Linked DNA regions of Homo sapiens: regions 2, 3 and 4 are each linked to region 1. The links are contacts of gene promoters, found by promoter capture Hi-C in blood cells and fetal thymus (Javierre and others, 2016). All regions are on one chromosome and are shown on one strand. Each heading gives the region's core, a stretch centred on a gene start or on the middle of the fragment in contact. The rest is flanking DNA. Distances are from core to core; before and after follow the strand shown.

Region 1 (2,965 bases), core at 301-2,800:
ATACAGAGATAGGAGCTGAGCGGACATAGTGAGAAGTGACCAGAAGACAAGAGTGCGAGCCTTCTGTTACGCCCTGACAGGGCCACCAGAGGGCTCCTTGGTCTAGTGGTGACGCCAGCGTCTGGGAAGACACCTGTTGCCAAGCGGACCGTGATCTAGCAGTAGCGTCAGTGTCAAGGGAAAACACCTGCTACTTAGCAGACAGGGAAAGGGAGTCTCCCTTTCCCCGGGGGAGCTTAGAGAGGACTCTACTCCTCCACCTCCTGTGGAGGGCCTGACATCAGTCAGACCTGCCCGCAGTTATCCAGAGGCCTAACCGTCTCCCTGTGATGCTGTGCTTCAGTGGTCACGCTCGTAGTCCGCCTTCATGTTCCATCCTGTACACCTGGCTCTGCCTTCTAGATAGCAGTAGTCAATTAGTGAAAGTACTAAAAGTCTCTGATATGCAGAAATAATGATGTAAGCTGTCTCTCTCTCTCTCTCTCCGCCTTGGCTGCCAAACAGGGAAGGGCCCCCCATCCGGTGGACACGTGACTCACGTCACCTTACCTATCATTGGAGATGACTCACACTCTTTACCCTGTCCCTTTTGCTTTGTATCCAATAAATATCAGCACAGCCAGACATTCGGGGCCACTACCGGTCTCCACGTCTTGGTGGTAGTGGTCCCCAGGCCCAGCTGTCTTTTCTTTTATGTCTTTTTCTTGTGTCCTTATTTCTATGCCCTCTCATCTCAGCACACAGGGAGAAACTCACCAACCCTGTGGGGCTGGTCCCTACAGAAAACATCTACAAAACGCATACACCTGAGACGAGACTGAAATCCAGCATCCATGAGGAACTCCCAAGACTGAGTAATAAGAAAACAAGCCACTCCATTAAAAATAAAAAGAGGCCAGGTGTGGCATCTCACGCCTGTGATCCTCGCATTTTGGGAGGCCGAGGCGGGTGGATCACCTGAGGTCAGGAGTTCGAGACCAGCCTGGCCAACATGGTGAAACCCTATCTCTTCTCAAAATACAAAAATTAGCCGGGCATGGTGGCGGGCGCCTGTAGTCCCAGCTACTCGGGAGGCTGAGGCAGGAGAATCGCTTGAACCCAAAGTGAGGTGGGTGGGGGGAGGTTGCAGTGAGCCAAGATCGCGCCGTTGCACTCCAACCTAAGTGAAAGAGCAAAATTCCGTCTCAAAATATATATATAAACAAATAAAAATAAAAAGGCAAGAGATCTGAAAAGATACTCCACCAAAGAAAACATCCGGATGGGAGATGAGAACACGCTCAGCATCAGTCCATGGGAAGATGCAACCTGGAAGCTTTTTGAGACCCCTCTGTGCACCTCGCAGACCATGGAAGGCGTTCCACAGAAACAGGCTCAATCCCTAGAGCCTGTGAGGGCTGGGAGTCAGCAGAGCTATCACCCTCTGCGGGAAGAACAAGACGGGACCACACTGCAAAACTTCCTGGCAGACTCTCATGCAGTGAAACATTCCACCAACCTACCTACTTATGGAGGTCTCCACCCGGGAGAAATGAAAACTACGTTTACAGCGAACTTGAGCACTTCTGCATGAGCAGCACGTGATGGACACTCAGCAGTAAAAGGAACGAAGGTGGCTGAATCCCAGGTGCACCCTGCAGAGGGACAGAAGCCAGGTGGAAAAGGCTGCGATCTGCGACTCCTTTTATACGACGTTCTAGGACAGGTGAGCCCACAGGGCAGGGGGCTTCCCAGTGGCTCTGAGGGCTGAGGTGCGGGCAGTGATTGACCGCAAGGGACCTCGAGGAAGCTTTGTGGGCACCAGAGCTGCTGTGTCGCACTTGCAGTGGTTCCATGAACATTTGCATTTGTCTAAACTCACACAACTGTGCCCTCAAAGGGGCGAATGCAGCTGTGCATACATCATACCTCAACTTTTATTTATTTGTGGTTTTTCTTCGTTTTCTTTTCTTTTTTTCTTTTTTCTTTTTTTTCTTTTTTTTTTTTTTTTTTTTTTTTTTTTTTGAGACGGAGTCTCGCTCTGTCGCCCCAGGCGGGACTGCGGACTGCAGTGGCGCAATCTCGGCTCACTGCAAGCTCCACCTCCTGGGTTCACGCCATTCTCCCACCTCAGCCTCCGGAGTAGCTGGGACCACAGGCGTCCACCACCATGCTCGGATAATTCTTTGTATTTTTAGTAGAGACAGGGTTTCACCATGTTAGCCAGGGTGGTCTCGATCTCCTGACCTTGTGATCCACCTGCCTCAGCCTCCCAGAGTGCTGGGATTACAGGCATGAGCCACCGTGCCTGGCCTTGTTTTGTTTTTTAAGACGGGGTCTCACTCTGTCACTCAGGCTGGAGTGCAGTGGTGCAATCTCAGCTCACTGCAATCTCCACCTCCCGGGTTCAAGCGATTCTCCTGCCTCAGCCTCCCATGTAGCTGGGATAACAGTAGCCACCATGCCCGTCTAATTTTTTTTGCATTTTTAGTAGAGACAGGATTTCACCATATTGGTCAGGCTGGTCTCAAACTCCTGACCTCAGGTGATCTGCCCTCCTTGGCCTCCCAAAGTGCCGGGATTACAGGCGTGAGCCACTGCGCCTTGCCTTTTTTTCGTTTTTGACATAGTGAACTGGGGTCCTTTCTCAGAGCTCAGTCCCCTCCCACCCCAACCCCCATGCACGGCCCCCCCCCGCCACCCTGCCACCCCCCCATGCACTGCCCCCCCCGCCACCCCCCCATGCACTGCCCCCCCCGCCACCCCGCCACCCCTCCATGCACTGCCCCCCCGCCACCCCGCCACCCCTCCATGCACTGCCCCCCGCCACCCCCCCATGCACTGCCCCCCCGCCACCCCGCCACCCCTCCATGCACTGCCCCCCGCCACCACCCCATGCACTGCCCCCCCCGCCACCCCGCCACCCCCCCATGCACTTCCCCCCCGCCACCCCGCCACCCCCCATGCACTGCCCCCCCCGACACCC
Region 2 (2,965 bases), core at 326-2,825, 450 kb after region 1:
AACTTGTACTTGGGGCAGGACTCGTAGAGAATCTGCAGGCACTGCTCACACACAGAGTGCAGGCAGGACAGCACGCGGGGCCTCCGCTGGGTGACATTGTAGGAGTGCCCACAGGTGGGGCACTCCAGGGGCTCGCCTGCCGCCGCCGAAGAAGCCGCCGAGGCCGAGGGGCCAGGCCGAATCACGTACTGATTCACAATGACCTCATCCTCTGGGGCCACGCGGGGAAAGCCCAGCTCCGAGCTTCCCTTACGGGGCCGCCGTGGCAGTGGCGGGGTATGGGGTGCCCCTTCCAAGGCAGGCATGTCCCCCCCACAGGCCTGGTTGACAATGATCTCTGTGTCTGAGGGCCAGGCACGCTTGGGTGCCAGAGTTGGGGTGGGCCGGGGAGCAGGCGGGAAGCAGGGGGCAGCCGGTAGCTCAGGGAACTTTTCAGGGTGGACAATCTTCATGGCCTCCATCTTGAGGATGACATGGGGACCCTTCAGGCAGGACATGAGGAGGCCCGGCCAGCCACTGCCCGCCTCGGGCCCGGGGTCAGAGGGCATCCGGCTGTCTCCAGTCAGACTGGATGTTCGGGTGGGTGGGGGCGTTGTGTGGGGCTGGGGGGCAGGTGACAGGGCAGCATCCTGGTCCCGCCAGGCCTGGGGGGGGCCCCGGACGGCCCGTGGACTCCTAGGGACAGCCGGCGAGAGTTGGGGGTGCAGGGCCCCCCCCAGTGGCCACAGTGGCTTCTCTGGTCCAGTCCTGGGAGGAGGAGGAAGGGGTGGGGGAGGGGGAGGCAGGCGGGGGCAGGGAGGGGTGGGAGGCTGCCCTGGGCTGGGGGTCTGGCCCAGGGTCTCACCCAGGGTCTCTGGCTGCTGAGGCTGGCGAGGGGGCGCGGGGGGGGCTCCCCCTGCAGCCGAGGTCAGCAGGCCGCGGGCCGGGACATCGGGGCAGGCAGGGGCTGGGTGGGCCCCATGGCTCCAGGACAGGGCGCCCAGGGAAGGCAGCTAGCCGAAGCGCTGGCTGCAGGAGGACCGGGGCGGCAGGCTCCGCGGCAGGAGCAGAGGCGAGGCCTGGGCCAGGCCTGAGCTGCAGGTGAGAGACGGCATGAGGGCAGTGCCCCGGCCACCCCCACCCTAGCCCTCGCCCTGCACAAAGGACCGGGCGCCCGACCTCTGACCCTGACCTCAGCCGTGGGATCCCGACCTCCGCGGGCCTCAGAACCCAACCCCCTCCCCGGTCCCCGCCTCCAAGGCCAGACGCACCTTCCCGAGGGCCGACCCCCGTCGCGTGGGGAGGGGCGCTGAGTCCGCCCCCGGCCCCCGCCCCCTGCGCTCACCTGCCCCAGCCTGGCGTCCCGGCCGCGCGCCGCCGCCGCAGAGGTTGTCTCAAAGGCAGGCCCGGACGCGGCGCCCGCGCCTCGGCCCGGCAGCTCGGGGGGCTCCGGCGGCTCCGGCGGCGGCCGCAGCGACCTCAGGCGATGGCGGGGCCCGGGCGGCACCGAGGGGCGCGGGCGCGGGCGTGGGGCGCGGGGCGCGGGTTTCGGCACGGCGGCGACGGCGGCAGGTGCGTGCGGAGCGTGGCGCGCTCTGCGGCGGAGGCGCGGGGACCGCAGTGCGCGCGGCGCCCGCCCGCGCCCGCAGCGCCACCCCCCGTCTGGGGACCCGCGCGGGGTCCGCGGGGCGGGGCCAGCCTCCCGGCCGCCCCTCGGTCCGCTCCCGGCGTCGCTCTCGCCCGCGGACTGCGTGGGGGGCAGGACCCCCGCGTCGCCCCCAGTTCTCTCCAGGCTGATCCTGGGTCCTGGTCAAGCCCCCGCCCCCCCAGATTCAGGAGGAGAATCCGGCTGTTCTCCTCCCTCACAGTAGGAGGCCTCAGGACTCTGGAGTGAGAGGGAGGGGACCTGCGCGGAGGATCCCAGGGGAGCTGGTTCCAGGGCCCACCGGTGCCTTCCCCCGTCCCCGGCCCCCCGCCCCATGGGAAGGCCCCGAGTCCTCCAGCTCCGCCTGTGCCCGGTGCCGTAGCTCAGATAGATCGCTGTGACTCTAAGGGGCAAGAGCGGGGCGGGCGGAGCGGATCAGAAGGCCGAGGCCGGTGGACGGACGGGTCCGGTGGGAGTGCGCGAAGGACAGGCTGGCAGCCCAGTGCGGGGTGGAGGCGGCCCTGAGGACCGCACCTGCCCGGACAGGGTGGCCCCTGGCACTCCAGCGCGCAGGCCCGGGCCTCTCCGCTTCCTCACCCGGGGCTTCCCTGCCCTCCTGGGTCCGCCTTCTGCCTGTGGAGCCCTCGGGCTTGCTGGTCACCGTGAGGCAGGGGACCAGGGCTTCGAGGGCCTCCGCTGCCACGCTGTGACCAGCTCTGGCCCCGCACCTGGCCCTGGACATCCTGGCCTCCTTCAGCTCCTCTCTCCGCTGGACTGGCCAGACCGCACCTGCTCTAGGCAGAGCCCCAGGGCCTGCAGAGTGCTGAGCCCAGAGGGGACGGTGCCGCTGGTGCGGGAGCTCGCGTGGGCAAAACAGGCTGGAGGAGCAGCCCTGCGCATAGGGTCTGGCTTGGCCCCTCTGTGGGGCCTCGGGCGAGTGTCACTCAGAAGAGCAATAGGGAGAGGTGTGCGGGTGACAGGGGCGCTGCTGGAGGGGTCCTTACGGGGCCCTGGCAAGATGGTGGGGCAACTGAGGCAGCCTGGGCCTGGGGAGGGCCGGGAGCCCAGCTCCGCCGCAGACTCTGCTCACCGACCCGGCGTGCGCCCGAGGAAGCACCAGGCCGCAGGCCCCGCCCCCTCAGCGAGACCCCACCCCGTAGGGGATGAGATCCCGCCCCCGCCACGAGGCCCCGCCCCCCAGGCCAGGCCTTTTCAGACCCGCCATTCAGAGCTGGAGAACCCCAAGCCGAGTATTGGTCACATCCGAACCGGGTCTTTCGGGAAACCCCGGAGCGCGTGGGCTTCTGGGCAATAATATTTCCACGGCCGGTTCCTGCCTTG
Region 3 (2,965 bases), core at 1-2,500, 290 kb after region 1:
GATGCAGGAGGCAGGGCCCCAGGTGAAGAAGGTCCACCGAGGCTGGCCGTGGGCCTCAGAGCCAGGTCAGCTCTAAAGACACTCTCCCTAGGCCTCCAAGCCAGGGCCAGAGAGAGAGGCTGGCCCTGCCTTGTTGGGGGTGCTGGGTGGGCCTTCCTGCAGACCTGAGTGGCACGAGCTTGTAAATGCCCTTTTCCAGCTCCTGCCCCAGCATCCTGGATCCACCTGGAAAGCTGGGGACCAGCCTCCCAGGCCCGGGCGCCAATTCCAGCCTCCGAGAGGGCCGCACCAGTCCATCCCGACCAAGGCTTCCCCAGAGCCCAGAGCATCAACAGGTCAGCGCGTGCACCGCCACATGGCCGTCCTGCAGGGCCGCAGAGCTCCCTGCTTCTGACTCCCCATCAGGCTGGGGGACTTGGCTCTCCACCCCACCCCCCTACAAGCCCAATAAAGGGTTAAAGGGGCCGACCAGGAGGTCCCTGGGCCTGCTGGAGTGGAGATCCAGGCTAGCCTGCTCCAACCTTTTGAGGACCGGCCAGGGCTGCTCCGGTCAAGCCCTCCTGTCTTTCTGGGCCACTCTCGTGTCCTGGCGGGGGCCCTGGGTCCTGGGGCTTGTGGATCCCCATCTGGGCTGAATACCCAGTCGATGTGGCTCTAACCGCACCCTCCGGGGCGGCGGCACAGGGCAGAAGTGGCCCGGAGTGCCCCTGGGGGCCCGCACAGGCCTGGGGGCGGGCGTCCGGCAGCACCCAGGGGGCATCGCTGGGCTATCCCGGGAGCGGGGACACAGCCCCTGGGCTGCGTTGACGGACTCGGCGGCGGGCGCGGAACTCCCGGGACTTGTTCCTTCAGCACCGCGTCGCCCTGGAAGCGCCACCGCCCCCCGCCCCCTCCGCGTACCCGGTCGGGGAGCGCAGAGCGCGGAACCCGGGACCCCACCCAGCCCGCCAGGAGCAGAGCACGGTGGGGGTCCCGGGCTGATCCTGCTCAGGTTCCCAGCCGCACCCCCTCCCCGGCTCCAAGCCCGGCCCGCTGCTCCCCAGACGTGCGCTGGGTGCCCGGGCGCGCACCTTGAGGGCGGGCGGCTCCCGGACGTCGCGGGTGGGGACGCACAGCAGTAGGAGGCCGGCGAGGCCCGCGGCGGCCAGCAGCAGCGGCGGCAGCAGTGACCGCACCTTCCCGGCCATGGGCGGGCGGGCGCGCGGGAGGACGATGCGTGGACCCGGAGAGTGCGGGGAGCCGGAGGCGGAGGCGGGCGGGGCCGCGGGACCGCGGGGTAGGGGCCCCGGGGCGGGACGAGGGGCGGGAGGCCGGGCGGGCCCGCCCATCACCGGCCACGCCCACGGGCGGACAGGTTTCGCCTCCGCTCCCAAGCTTCCGCCGTCCGGCCCGCGCAGGTGAGAGACGCGGGCGCGGCTGAGTCACCAGCACCGCCCCCCGGCTCCCGGGTCTGAGCCCGGGCGCCCCGCGGCTATGGCCCACCTTCCCCTTCCCGCCCACTCAGCAAGGGGATCCCCCGGCCGTGGAGGCAGGAGACCTGGCGTGGGGGTGGGCGGGCGAGGCTGGCTCGGAGGGTCCTGTGCTGGAGAGCCGCGCTTTTCCCGGGCCCGGGAAAGGAGGCCAGACTCGCTTGCAGGAATGAGGCACTGTCGGCTGCGGAGCCACGCGGGGCCCGGGCTGGGGACTCAGGAGGAAGCCGAGGGTCAGCACCTGTTTGTGGAGCAGGGCCCTGAGCGCCAACTCCCAGGGCTGGTGAGGACCAGGCTGGCCTGCGGGATGCCCTCCCGGCCAGCAAGGATCCGCCAGCCTGCGGCGCTGAGCCAGCGCAGGTCAGCTCCAGAGACACGCAGCTGACCCAGGCCAGAACTACCCTTGAGGCCCAGTCAGATCCACCTCACCTGGGCCCTGTACTGAGGTGAAGGTGAGGACGCAGGAACGGGGAAGGGGAGGGACGGCCCAGGTCACACCGAGCCGAGAAACAGGAGAAGCAGCACAGACCGGGCCAAAGGTCCATACCTCCCAGCCCAGGGCCTCAGCCGCGCCTGCTGCCCCCTCGGCCTGAGGGGAACAGAGGCTTGGGCTGCGGAGGCCAGAGGAGGCTTCCCCAGGACGGAAACAGGTGGGGCCTCTACGTGGCCTGAAAGGCAAGGAAGAGGGTCCCCAGGCCAAGCTTGGGGTGCGGGTCAGCAACAGGCTTCTGGGGACGGCTGGGGCAGGCGAAGCGCAGCTGGCCCCAGACGCAAGCCCTGCTCCTCCGTCCCACGACATGGCTGGCCTTTCGGCTCTGCAGCCTCACAGGCCCCGCATCCCAGCCCGGCCAGGGGCCACCCCCTTTGCGCCTGCTGCAAAGTGGGAATTCTTGTCCCAATAATTCCAGCCACACAGCGTCAGGGAGCCACGAGGCAAGGCCACCAGGGAGTGCAGGCTGCTGGGGCCCAAAGGGCAGCCCCATGGGGCAGGGTCCAGACCATGCCCGGCCTTCTGGAACGGGCAGTGACAATTGTGCTGGGATTGCTGCCTGGGCTGAGGGTCTGGCGCCACAGGCCCAGTAAAGGCATCTTTCTTCCAGCTCAGGACCCCAAAGGGAGGGGTGGGAACCCTGGGAAGCCTCTCTGCTGCCTCAGCCTCACAGCCCAGCCTGGCGGGGCTCCAGCAGGCAATCTCTGGGTGTTGCCGGTGCTAAGCTCCAGGCCCCAGGCCCCAGTTTCCCCCCACACACCCCAGGCCTTTCTTCCACCCCTGACCGCCCAGAGGAGGGAGAGGCACGCACAGTGCACATCATGCCTGAAAAGGAAGGAACAAAGGCCGCCCAGAGGCAGGGTGCTGCGACCCCCACTGGCCTGCGGTACCCCGCTTCCCTCCAGGCCCAGCGGGGCTTCCTGGTGTTCTGGACTCTTTTCATGGACAAAAAGCTCAAGCCAGGGAGTGGGAGGTCTGCCAGGCCTGAGAGGATGGGGAGGGAGAG
Region 4 (2,965 bases), core at 277-2,776, 260 kb after region 1:
GCCCACCTGCACCCCCCACCCCTGCTTCCTGACCTCTGTGCCCAGCCTCCCGTTAGCCCGCTGCTTGCCGGTAAGGGCCGGATGCCTGGTGGTTTGATTTCGACACCCAGCCCTTCCACCCACACCCACCTCCCCCGGCCAGCGGATCTCAGGCCTGAAACCAACCCTCAAGGTCCTCATAGACTTGGCTGCGGGGTAGGTGTGGGTAGCGGTCACAGATGGCACAGAAACGTTCCCGCCAGTCGGTGAACAGTCGCACGCGGAGCCTGTCACGCCAGGCAAAGAAGCGTTGGTATCGGCTCTCATTCATGCCAGTGAGGAAAGCCGCCAGCTCTCGGGCTGAGCCAAAGTCATCCACATGCACGAAGGCGTCAGCCGGCACGAAGGCCTCATAGGTGGCCCGTGGGGGCCCCAGCACCACTGGCACAGTGCCAGCCACCAGTGCGTTGCGCCAGAATTTCTCCGTAATGTAGTCGCGGTGCTGAGAGTTCTCAAAGGACAGGTAGAAGCGGTACTGGGCCACGGTGGGCACCAGGCAGCTGGCGCACAGTGGCCGTCCATTGGCACGGCCAAAGACATCCACCCGCAGATGAGGCGCCAGCTGCCGGTACAGCCTGGCACGCAGCTGCCGCTCCTGGAAGTTGCTGACCACCCAGGCGGCCACCCTGCTCTTGGCTGGCAGCGGTGGCGAGGGCCCCCAGTGGGGCTCCAGGCGGCCATAGGGCACAAAGATGTCCGAGTCGCGCCGGTAGCTCAGCACCCAGTTGAAGATGCCTCGGAGGTGGCTGAGGCCGTGGGTGTGGCTAGGAGACTCCATGGAGGCCCACACCCAGGGCTGCCCTCGCGGCCGCTGGGCCAGGGGCAGGTGGGACCGCCGGGTCTGCAGCTCGCGGTGGTGGAAGACCACGGCGTCGGCGCTGGCCAGCAGGCTTCGGTTGGCACTCAGGTGGCAGCGGGCGATGCCGTAGCGGGTGCAGGTGTCGCTGGGCAGCTCTGGGGGCTGGTCAGTGAAGGGCCAGTGCCAGACAAGGATGGTGATCGTGGGCTGGGGTGCCGGGGTACCCCGAGGGGCTGACCCCAGCAGCCACAGGAGCCAGAGGGCAGCGAGCAGAGCCACCCCGGCCAGGACCCCCAAGCCTCGCAGCCTCCGGGTGGGGCCGTGCCCTGCAGCAGCACGAGGGAGGGGAGGCTCTGTCACTTGGGCTCAGGGACATCCACACGCCCCACTCAGCGCCAACCCCGTCCTCCCCTCCCATGGGCTCAGGGACACCCACATGCCCCACTCAGCGCCACCCCCGTCCTCCCCTCCCATGGGCTCAGGGACACCGACATGCCCCACTCAGCGCCACCCCCGTCCTCCCCTCCCAGGTTGCCTAGCTGTCCCCAGCTTGGGCCTCCCCGAGGGCCAGACACTCACCAGCATTATTCATCCACAGTCTCCCAGGATCAGTCAGCCAAGAGACCCGAGATTCTCAAATCACGGCAGCCGCCAGAGGTGCCCCTGAAATCACAGCTACGCCCTAGCTCAGCCCCGCCTGGAACTGTGCTCCTTTTATCTCTGCCCAAGGTGAGGGAACTCAGGGGACCTTCCTGCTCCTGCCCCGCCCCTGCCCCCACAACCTTTGGCATCAACCACTGTCCCCACCCCCATCTCGGGGACTTGCTAGTCCTGGGGCTGCTGGGAGGGGTACAGCCACAAGAGGGATGCCAAGCCAGGGCAATATGACGCCCCCACAGCCCACCCCACTGGTCTCCAGAGAGGCCCAGAGATGTCCAGCTGGGCAGGCAGAGGACAGAGAGGCTCGGGCAGGCTTGGCCCAGGGCAGAGAAGGCCCAGGTGCAGGCACCCTGAGCACAGATGGCCCCCCAGCCCCCACCCAGCTACCCAGGCCTGGGCGCTGCAGACAGCGAGTGCACTTCCCCAGAGGGCCAGGTGGCTCCTCCCACGGCAGTATCACCCACTTCCCCCAGCTCACCACCAGCTGGGCCCTGGTCTCCCAGGAGAATCTTACACATTGAAGATGTACTGTGCTCAGCTCTTTGCCGGAAGCTAAAGCTCCCAATTGGGCCATCCCACCCCACTCTGCCACCTCTGCCATCTAGGAACCCAGATGCCCGGAGAGGAGGTCTGTCCTGGGGCCCTTAGTGTCTTCCCACAGGAGCCCAGCGCGTGCCTGCAAGGGCCTGGTCCCGGAATGAACTGTGGATGGAGGCTGCTTTGTCCTTTTCCCCGTCCAGATCCATGCCCATAGACACCGCTGACTATAGGCTGGGCCCAGGGTCCCTTCCTCCAGCCTGCAGCAGAGGGGCTTTCCAGGCTGGAAAGGGAAGGAGTCCTTTTGTCCCTGACGCAAGCGGGTTGGGGGCCAGCACCCGCTCCAGGAAGAGGAAGGGATCCAGCCTGAAGTCCAGACTCCCCGCTCCCTCTAAGCCAGGGCCTGGAGCCTGGAGGCCAGGTTCCTTCTTCTACACCAGCCCACGTTGGGTGCCAGCCAGGCTGGGATGGCCCTGCGGGGTCACCCTGAGCCCCAGCCAACCAACACCCCACTCTCAGCCACAGTGGGAGGCCCCATCAGCCTCTTCACCCAACCACGTTGCCACTCTGCTGCACGGGACCTTGTGTGGTCCCAGGCGTGGCCAGACCCAGACGTCCTGGAGATCTCAATGCAGGTCAGGCTTGGTTTGTTTGTTTGTTTGTTTGTTTGTTTTTTGAGAGGGAGTCTTGCACTATCGCCCAGGCTGTAATCCCAGCATTTTGGGAGGCCAAGGCTTGTGGATCACCTGAAGTCAGGATCAAGTGGTGCGATCTTGGCTCACTGCAACCTCCACCTTCCGGGTTCAAGTGATTCTCCTGTCTCAGCCTCCCAAGTAGCTGGGATTATGGGTGCCTGCCACCACGCCCAGCTAATTTTTGTATTTTTAGTAGAGATGGGGTTTTCCCATGTTGGCCAGGCTGGTCTCAAAC

What was found. Contacts are between HindIII fragments. The CHiCAGO score rates a contact against its expected background, and 5 or more counts as called.
Region 2: a contact is called between the fragment with the promoter of RNF208 here and a fragment that was not itself captured in region 1, in 2 of 17 cell types (endothelial precursors and naive CD8 T cells). The highest score is 6.3, in endothelial precursors.
Region 3: the fragment with the promoter of ENTPD2 here is called in contact with a fragment that was not itself captured in region 1 in 1 of 17 cell types (non-activated CD4 T cells); the score reaches 5.5 in non-activated CD4 T cells.
Region 4: the fragment with the promoter of FUT7 here is called in contact with a fragment that was not itself captured in region 1 in 10 of 17 cell types (endothelial precursors, activated CD4 T cells, naive CD4 T cells and 7 more); the score reaches 9.7 in endothelial precursors.

What each region holds. Positions count from the first base shown.
Region 1 is chr9:136,766,516-136,769,480 of GRCh38, forward strand. LOC107987143 (a long non-coding RNA gene) reads right to left here. Exons shown (of 3, transcript XR_001746981.2): 2 at 1,246-1,634; 3 at 1-1,159. Among named protein-coding and RNA genes, the nearest start is that of LCN15, 3.5 kb to the left of the region's middle. The HindIII fragment of the contact is 474 bases long and covers 1,314-1,787 here.
Region 2 is chr9:137,220,665-137,223,629 of GRCh38, forward strand. RNF208 (ring finger protein 208) reads right to left here and starts at 1,576. Exons shown (of 2, transcript NM_031297.7): 1 at 1,325-1,576; 2 at 1-1,074. The coding sequence starts at 548. RefSeq lists silencers at 1,129-1,178, 2,119-2,168, 2,479-2,828. The HindIII fragment of the contact is 9,789 bases long and covers 1-2,965 here.
Region 3 is chr9:137,052,811-137,055,775 of GRCh38, forward strand. It overlaps ENTPD2 (ectonucleoside triphosphate diphosphohydrolase 2), which reads right to left and starts at 1,251. Exons shown (of 9, transcript NM_203468.3): 1 at 1,071-1,251. The coding sequence starts at 1,187. It overlaps LOC105376327 (a long non-coding RNA gene), which reads left to right. Exons shown (of 2, transcript XR_930455.2): 1 at 1-65; 2 at 200-565. RefSeq lists silencers at 1,237-1,306, 1,407-1,486. The HindIII fragment of the contact is 4,509 bases long and covers 1-1,372 here.
Region 4 is chr9:137,030,562-137,033,526 of GRCh38, forward strand. It overlaps FUT7 (fucosyltransferase 7), which reads right to left and starts at 1,527. Exons shown (of 2, transcript NM_004479.4): 1 at 1,418-1,527; 2 at 1-1,164. The coding sequence starts at 1,430. The coding sequence ends at 149. It overlaps LINC02908 (long intergenic non-protein coding RNA 2908), which reads left to right. Exons shown (of 3, transcript NR_171031.1): 2 at 1,437-2,670. RefSeq lists an enhancer at 1,562-1,671. The HindIII fragment of the contact is 19,925 bases long and covers 1-2,965 here.